Regions from separate parts of the Homo sapiens genome. Here region 1 is linked to region 2. Evidence: promoter capture Hi-C in 16 types of primary human blood cells and fetal thymus (Javierre and others, 2016). All regions are on one chromosome and are shown on one strand. Each heading gives the region's core, a stretch centred on a gene start or on the middle of the fragment in contact. The rest is flanking DNA. Distances are from core to core; before and after follow the strand shown. Region 1 overlaps LINC02733 (long intergenic non-protein coding RNA 2733). Region 2 holds the start of FADS1 (fatty acid desaturase 1).

The links. Contacts are between HindIII fragments. The CHiCAGO score rates a contact against its expected background, and 5 or more counts as called.
Region 1: a contact is called between a fragment that was not itself captured here and the fragment with the promoter of FADS1 in region 2, in 4 of 17 cell types (neutrophils, naive B cells, naive CD4 T cells and 1 more). The highest score is 11.6, in neutrophils.

The regions. Positions count from the first base shown.
Region 1 is chr11:62,063,779-62,067,218 of GRCh38, reverse strand. The region is part of intron 1 of LINC02733 (long intergenic non-protein coding RNA 2733); the gene reads left to right. Among named protein-coding and RNA genes, the nearest start is that of LINC02733, 17 kb to the left of the region's middle. The HindIII fragment of the contact is 8,726 bases long and covers 1-3,440 here.
Region 2 is chr11:61,815,707-61,819,597 of GRCh38, reverse strand. FADS1 (fatty acid desaturase 1) reads left to right here and starts at 2,595. Exons shown (of 12, transcript NM_013402.7): 1 at 2,595-3,043. The coding sequence starts at 2,669. It overlaps LOC124902680 (a long non-coding RNA gene), which reads right to left and starts at 1,578. Exons shown (of 2, transcript XR_007062696.1): 1 at 1-1,578. It also overlaps a transcript of FADS2 not described here. RefSeq lists silencers at 2,234-2,333, 2,674-2,873 and an enhancer at 3,394-3,891. The HindIII fragment of the contact is 2,548 bases long and covers 1,029-3,576 here.

The DNA of each region.
Region 1 (3,440 bases), core at 80-2,579, 250 kb before region 2:
TGTTTTATCTACCTGGTATAGGTCGCATTGTGTCCCCTCAAAAGATATATTCAAGTCCTAACCCCAGTCCCTGTGAACATGATTTTATTTAAAAATAAGATCTTTTCTGGCTGGGCGCGGTGGCTCACGCCTGTAATCCCAGCACTTTGGGAGGCCAAGGCGGGTGGATCACAAGGTCAAGAGATTGAGACCATCCTGGCCAACATGATGAAACCCCGTCTCTATTAAAAGTATAAAAATTAGCTGGGCGTGGTGGCGGGTGCCTGTAGTCCCAGCTACTCGGGAGGCTGAGGCAGGAGAATCGCTTGAACCCAGGAGGTGGAGGTTGCAGTGAGCCGAGATCATGCCATTGCACTCCAGCCTGGGCGACAGAGCGAGATGCTGTCTCAAAAAATATAAAAATTAAAAAAAATAAGATCTTTTCTTTCCTTTTATGTTTTAGTTTTTTTTGAGACAGGGACTCACTCTGTCGCCCAGGCTGGAGTGCAGTGGCGAAACCTTGGCTCACTGCACTCTCCATCTCCCAGATTCAAGAGATCCTCCTGCTCCAGCTTCCCAAGTAGCTGCAACTATAGGCACGCACCACCACTCCTGGCTAATTTTTGTATTATTTTGTAGAGACAGACTTTCGCCATGTTGCCCACGCTGGTCTCGAACTCCTGGGCTCAAATGATCCTGCCACCTTGGCTTCCCGTAGTGTTGGGATTACAGGCATGAGCCACCACGCCCAGCCTGGAAATGTGATCTTTTTTAGCTGAGTTAAAATAAAAAAAGAAATAGGATCTTTACAGATGTAACCAAGTAAAAATAAGGTAATACTGGATTCAGGTGGGCTATAACTTCTTCTTTGTAAGAAGAGAGAAATTTGGTCACAGAGGCAGAGACACACACAGAAAGAACACAGCCATGTAAGATGAAGACAGAATCAGGGTGATGCAGTTACAAAGCCAAGGAATGGTATGGATAGCTGGCAACAACCAACAGCTGAAGACTCCTAATTGAGGAAGGAGTCTTGCCTGGAAATTTTGGACTTTTCACCTTCAAAGCTATGAGAGAATAAATCTGTGCTGTTTTGTTTGTTTGTTTGTTTGTTTGTTTGTTTTGAGATGAAGTTTTGCTCTTGTTGCCCAGGCTGGAGTGCAGTGGCGCAATCTCAGCTCACCACAACCTGTGCCTCCCAGGTTCAAGCAATTCTCCTGCCTCAGCCTCCCGAGTAGTTCAGATTACAGGCACCCGCCACCATGCCCAGCTAATTTTTGTATTTTTAGTAGAGACGGGGTTTCTCCGTGTTGGTCAGGCTGGTCTCGATCTCCCAACCTCAGGTGATCCACCCACCTCGGCCTCCCAAAGTGCTGGGATTACAGGTGTGAGCCACCACGCCCGGCCTAAATCTCTGCTGTTTTAAGCCACCCAGCTTGTGGCACTTTGTGACGGCACCCAGAGGACACTAATACAGTCCCTAAATATACCTTCCTTTGAACTCCTCTGGCATGCATCAACTGTGTGTGCAGTTGGATGCTGAACTAACCATAGAGACCAGCATGTATCTTCCATGTGCTTCTCACATTCCCACCACCAGCTCACTAAGGGCTGGATGTTGTCGTTTGGTGTCTTGGCATCACCCACAACAGTTTGTGGAGTGCTGGTGTGAGAGAAGTCCCCTTGTAAGTTGAAATTGAATGAAGAATGGAAATATCAACAGATCAACTGCTAGATAGGGGCTACAAGGCAATGACTCAGATTCATGATAGATCTAGGGGTCTTTGCTGCCTGTGAAAGCCCTGAGTTGATACAGATTTGGGTTTAATTTCGGCCTTCTCCATACTTTATCTTTATCCCTCAAATTCAGGCTTTAGCTGCTGTTCTCCAATTCCTCCAAGGCTGGACACTGTGGAAAGAGTTTTTAAGGCTTCTTCTCTGCCTGATACTTCTGGTCTGAGTGCTGGTGAGGGAGGCACCAAGATGGAGGGACGTTAAAGGGCTTTGTCCTTGATCCTCTCTTCATTTGCTCCATCGGTAGGTGGGTATCCAAGTCTGGTGGTGTTCATCAGGGCCTTCCCAGGCAAAGGAGGAAGGAACATTGGAAGAGAAGATCAAGGGGGAGAAATAGCCCACAAGAAAGCAGAAGAAATAGGCTGGGCGCTGTGGCTCATGCCTGTAATCCCAGCACTTTGGGAGGCCGAGGTGGGTGGATCTTCTGAGGTTGGGAGTTTGAGACCAGCTTGACCAACATGGAGAAACCCCATCTCTACTAAAAATACAAAATTAGCCAGGCGTGGTGGCAGGTGCCTGTAATCCCAGGTACTCCGGAGGCTGAGGAGGAGAATCACTTGAACCCAGAAGGCAGAGGTTGTGGTGAGCCAAGACCAGGCCATTGCACTCCAGCCTGGGCAACAAGAGTGAAACTCAAAAAAAAAAAAAAAAAAAAAAAAAGGAAAAAAGATAGCAGAAGAAATAGAAAGCTCCAGGGAAAAGTGAAAACTTCAGAGCTGGTTAGTTGGTGTGACATTATGATACATATGTATTGGTTCTCACCCATGGTTTCTGGCTCATAACTCCCATAGCCCTTGTCATAGTCTTTTGTGATAATATTGGGGTGTTTTAGGCCTCTGACCCAGCCTCAGAAAACAGAATCTCTCTCCCTGACCTTCTCCTGCCCTCCTTTTACCTGCTCCTTTTTCTCCCCAAGGCAGTAATCATTTTCCTGCCTTTTTGTCTAGGAGCTAGCCCTAAAGAAATTCCCCAACCTACCTCGCCTAATTGTAGGTTACAAGACAACCATTCCAGACAAGATCCTGCCCCATACCCTGGAGGAAGGACAGCTGCACAGAGAGGTCAAGAAGAATCTAGATAGACAGGCCTTGCTGGCATTCCTGAGTCAGTCCATTAGCCTTTGATCAATCCCTTTTGGTTCAATCACATTTCTGCATGGCTGTCCATGCTTCAATCATGTCTAACCAATGAAGTCTCCATAAAAAGCCAAGGAGGGGCCAGGCGTGGTGGCTCACACCTGTGCTTCCAACACTTTGGGAGGCCAAGGCGAACAGATTGCCTGAGGTCAGGAGTTCAAGACCAGCCTGACCAACATGGTGAAACCCCGTCTCTACAAAAAATACAAAAATTAGCTGGGTGTGGTGGTGGGCTATCTGTAATCCCAGCTACTTGGGAGGCTGAGGCAGGAGAATAGCTTGAACCCGGGAGGTGGAGGTTTCAGTGAGCTGAGGCTGGGCCATTGCACTCCAGCCTGGGCAACAAGAGCCAAACTCCATCTCAAAAAAAAAAAAAAAAAAAAGCCCAGGAGGATGGAGTATGAAGAGCTTCCAGACAGCTGAACACAGAAAGGTTCTTGGAGTGTGATTTGCCTGGGGAGGGCGTGGAAGCTCCATTCTCCTCCCCCATACCTTTTTGTTTGTTTGTTTGTTTTGAGATGGAGTCTTGCT
Region 2 (3,891 bases), core at 1,346-3,845:
CTGCTTTAATGAATATTTTTTGTTTATAAATAGTTTTCTTTTTTTGTGTGTGGATATAGAATCTTGCTTTGTTGCCCAGGCTGGAGTGCAGTGGCACAATCTCGGCTCACTGCAACCTCTGCCTCCCGGATTCAAGCAATTCTCCTGCCTCAGCCTCCCGAGTAGCTGGGACTACAGGCGCACGCCGCCACGCCCAGCCGATTTCTTTTGTTCAGGCTGGTCTTGAACTCCTGAGCTCAGGCAATCCGCCTGCCTCGACCTCCCAAAGTGCTAGGATTATAGGCGTGAGGCACCCCGCCTGACCTATAAATATTTTTCTAAGAACATTTCCTTAGGCTATATTCCTAAACATGGAATTATTGGGAACATTTTTATTTTTCTATTTTTTTTCATCTCTTCAGTATTCAAAACATTCCTAAATTCTGGCCGGGTGCGGTGGCTCACGCCTGTAATCCCAGCACTTTGGGAGGCCGAGGCGGGCAGATCACGAGGTCAGGAGATCAAAGCCATCCTGGCTAACATGGTGAAACCCCAACTCTACTAAAAATACAAAAACAAAATTAGCTGGGCGTGGTGGCGGGCACCTGTAGTCCCAGCTACTTGGGAGGCTAAGGCAGGAGAATGCCATGAACCTGGGAGGTGGAGCTTGCAGCAAGCTGAGATCAGGCCACTGCACTCCAGCCTGGGCGACAGAGCGAGACTCCATCTCAAAAAAAAAAAAAATCTTAAATTTCTATATAAGTTGTCAAACTATTTTTTCCAGTTTAATCAACTTACACTTCTACCAGCAGTATGAGAGCTTTTATCCCACTGCACAGTCACATAGGAAAAATGGTTTATGTAAAGGACCTCTCTTCTGTTATTTAATACCCATGAATTTCTTATATAGTTGTAATCAGCGAACCCATACTACTTTGGGTTCTGCTTATTTCACGGGGAAGGATTCTATATCTATCAATATAGTTCACATTCTAGCCATTTAAAATCATTCTTTAATTCTTCATTGTGTTAACAGATCCCAATAAGCTTGGCGATTTTCTTATTGTCAGGACTCGGGTTTATTTCCAGTTTTTGCTATTAAATTGGCTATTTCTGCATCTTTGCACAGTCTCCCCTACTTTACCAAGAGTGAAACTGCTTGATCAAAGAATAGAAAATGTTTTGTAGCTCGCATTAGACACTGCCAAGTTGTTGGGCAAGGTTTTTAAAAAAGGAATATTGGCTGTACAGAGGTGCAGCTGTGTGGACCATCATTCCTGAGCAGGGTCCAATAGCCTGGCATCTTACCTGGAAGTCAGGACATCTAAACTTCCCTATGGGAACTTGGTAAGCCCCTTCCCCATTTCGAACCTCAATTTTCTTATCTATAAAATGAAGAATTTGGATGGAATGAATTAATCCTTTTCTACCAGAAATCTAGCCATATTTCACCTAGTCTATTCTGTATCACCCTCTCCTGACTCCTACGTGCTCAGAATCTAGCTCAGTGCTTGGGACAGTTATGTTTCCTTTCCCTTTGAAGTGCCCAAATACCAGTGTAATGAGAAATATGGCAGAGCCTGAGAGTTCAGAGCACAGGCCAGGGTCAAATCTCAGCCCTCCACTTACAAGCTGTGTGACAAAATAACCTCCCCCGGGCTCAGTTTCTTCACTGTAAATTAGGTTAATTGTTCCAACCTCATAGGGTTGTTAGGAGAATTAAATGAGTTAAGGTTTGCAAAACGCTAAGAACAGTGCCTGGCACACAGTAAGTGCTTTATAAAGTGTTTGTTGAATAAATAAAATTTTGGACCTAAACTCTGGGTCTCTTCAGGACTGCAACAGCTTTGTAACTGGCAACCCCACTTTTAGGTGCGTTCCCACTCCTCTAAAACCCAGAGATCTAAATGCCAAATCTCTCTGCTTAAAAAGTCTCCCAGGGCTCCTAGGCGCCTCCAGGCTAGAACAGAAATGCCTCAGCTTGAAGACCCAGGCTTTTCAGGTGAAACACCTAAGGGTCAGGAGACGCTAGGATCATCACTCAAGGATCCCAGTGAATTTTTCCAAAATACAATAAAAATAAAAACAAAAAGAGGCAAACAGGGTTATAAAAATTGTGGGGCATTTTAAATGTTTCATTGAACAAATTAAAGCATTAACAGCCCTCCCCCAACCACCACCAAGCCCAAGAGACCGTAAATATGCTGTTCACAAGATAACTGCAACTTTCAAGGGCTCTCAGGCTGCTACTTCGGGCAGCACAATTGGCGGCACGACGTGGCAAGCAGGCAGTAGTTTCCAACCCTGGAGGGTCAGCGTCTGGAGACCCCGGCCAAGGCATCCACAGCCTAAAGATGATGTCCGCGACCGCCCGGGCAGCCTCGTGCACGGAAAAACCTCAACCCCGGCCCCGCCCACCCTTCCTGCGGCCACCCCGCAGCCCTGGCCCCTCAGTCCATTCACTCCTGCAGCGCGGCCCCGCACCCAGGGCCTGCACTAGAACCGCTGTTCCTACCGCGGCGCCCCCTGGGAGCCAACGCCGCGATGCCCGCCTGACGTCAGGAAGTCGAATCCGGCGGCGACGCCTTTAGGGAGCCCGCGAGGGGGCGCGTGTTGGCAGCCCAGCTGTGAGTTGCCCAAGACCCACCGGGGGACGGGATCTCGCTCCCCGCGCCACGAGGCTCGGCCAATGGGAACGCGCGCTGCGAGGCCCGCCGGTCTGCCCTGCGGTGCTGAAAACCCGGCGCGCAGGCGGCTGGCTCTGGGCGCGCGCCAGCAAATCCACTCCTGGAGCCCGCGGACCCCGAGCACGCGCCTGACAGCCCCTGCTGGCCCGGCGCGCGGCGTCGCCAGGCCAGCTATGGCCCCCGACCCGGTGGCCGCCGAGACCGCGGCTCAGGGACCTACCCCGCGCTACTTCACCTGGGACGAGGTGGCCCAGCGCTCAGGGTGCGAGGAGCGGTGGCTAGTGATCGACCGTAAGGTGTACAACATCAGCGAGTTCACCCGCCGGCATCCAGGGGGCTCCCGGGTCATCAGCCACTACGCCGGGCAGGATGCCACGGTGAGCGCAGCCAGGCGGGGGCACAGGAGAGGGCGGGACCGGAGGCTGAGTGCAGGGGAGACAGAGTTACGCACTCCGAGCCAAACACCGACTAATTCGGAGGAAAGCCCGGAGGCGCCTGATCATACCTGTTGCCCGGTGATTGGGTGTCCTGCGGATGCGGGATGAAAAGGCGGGAGAGAGGCCTGGAGAAGTGGAGTCTGGGGAGTGGGGATGGAGGCCAACAACACGCACACACAAACAAAGGGTCCCGCCTCCCTGCCGTGCATTCCATCTGCAGCCCCGAGCCTCAGGTCTCTGGGCGGGGACAGAACCCCGAGCTGGGTAGGCTAGGAGGGAGGAGAGCAAGGATGCAGGCCGCCTGGGGAGGGAGGGGGTCAGTGGCCAGGGGAGGGAGTCACATCCTGTCTCGATGGCTAGGAGAGGCAGCGCAGCCGCGTCTGGACCTAGGTGCCGGTCTCCACTCGCCAGCAGGAGCGGAGAGGGAGCAGGAAAGGAGCCCATTCTCGAGGATGGGGCTGAAACGGGAAGCTTGGGGAGACCGCTGCCTTGGGGACCCCTGCGTCGTGTGAAGACTGGAGGACGCGGAAGGGACAGCGCTGGCCGGGGAGGGCAAGCGGCCGCTGGCGTACATAAGGGATTGGGAATGGCATACACTTAGCGAGGACCCCCAGAGCTGTTCTCGAATCGCCGGGGAGGCCACTGAGCCGCAGGCCAGCGAGGTCTTCAGCTATTCCGCGGAGCGGACCGCTGTTTACGCTCTGGGGCGGTAGGCCCTTCGCGGGGTCCTGTCCCTTCTTCCCTTGGTCTCACTGCGGGGTCGGCGCGCGCCCCAGCCCCAGGCCTGC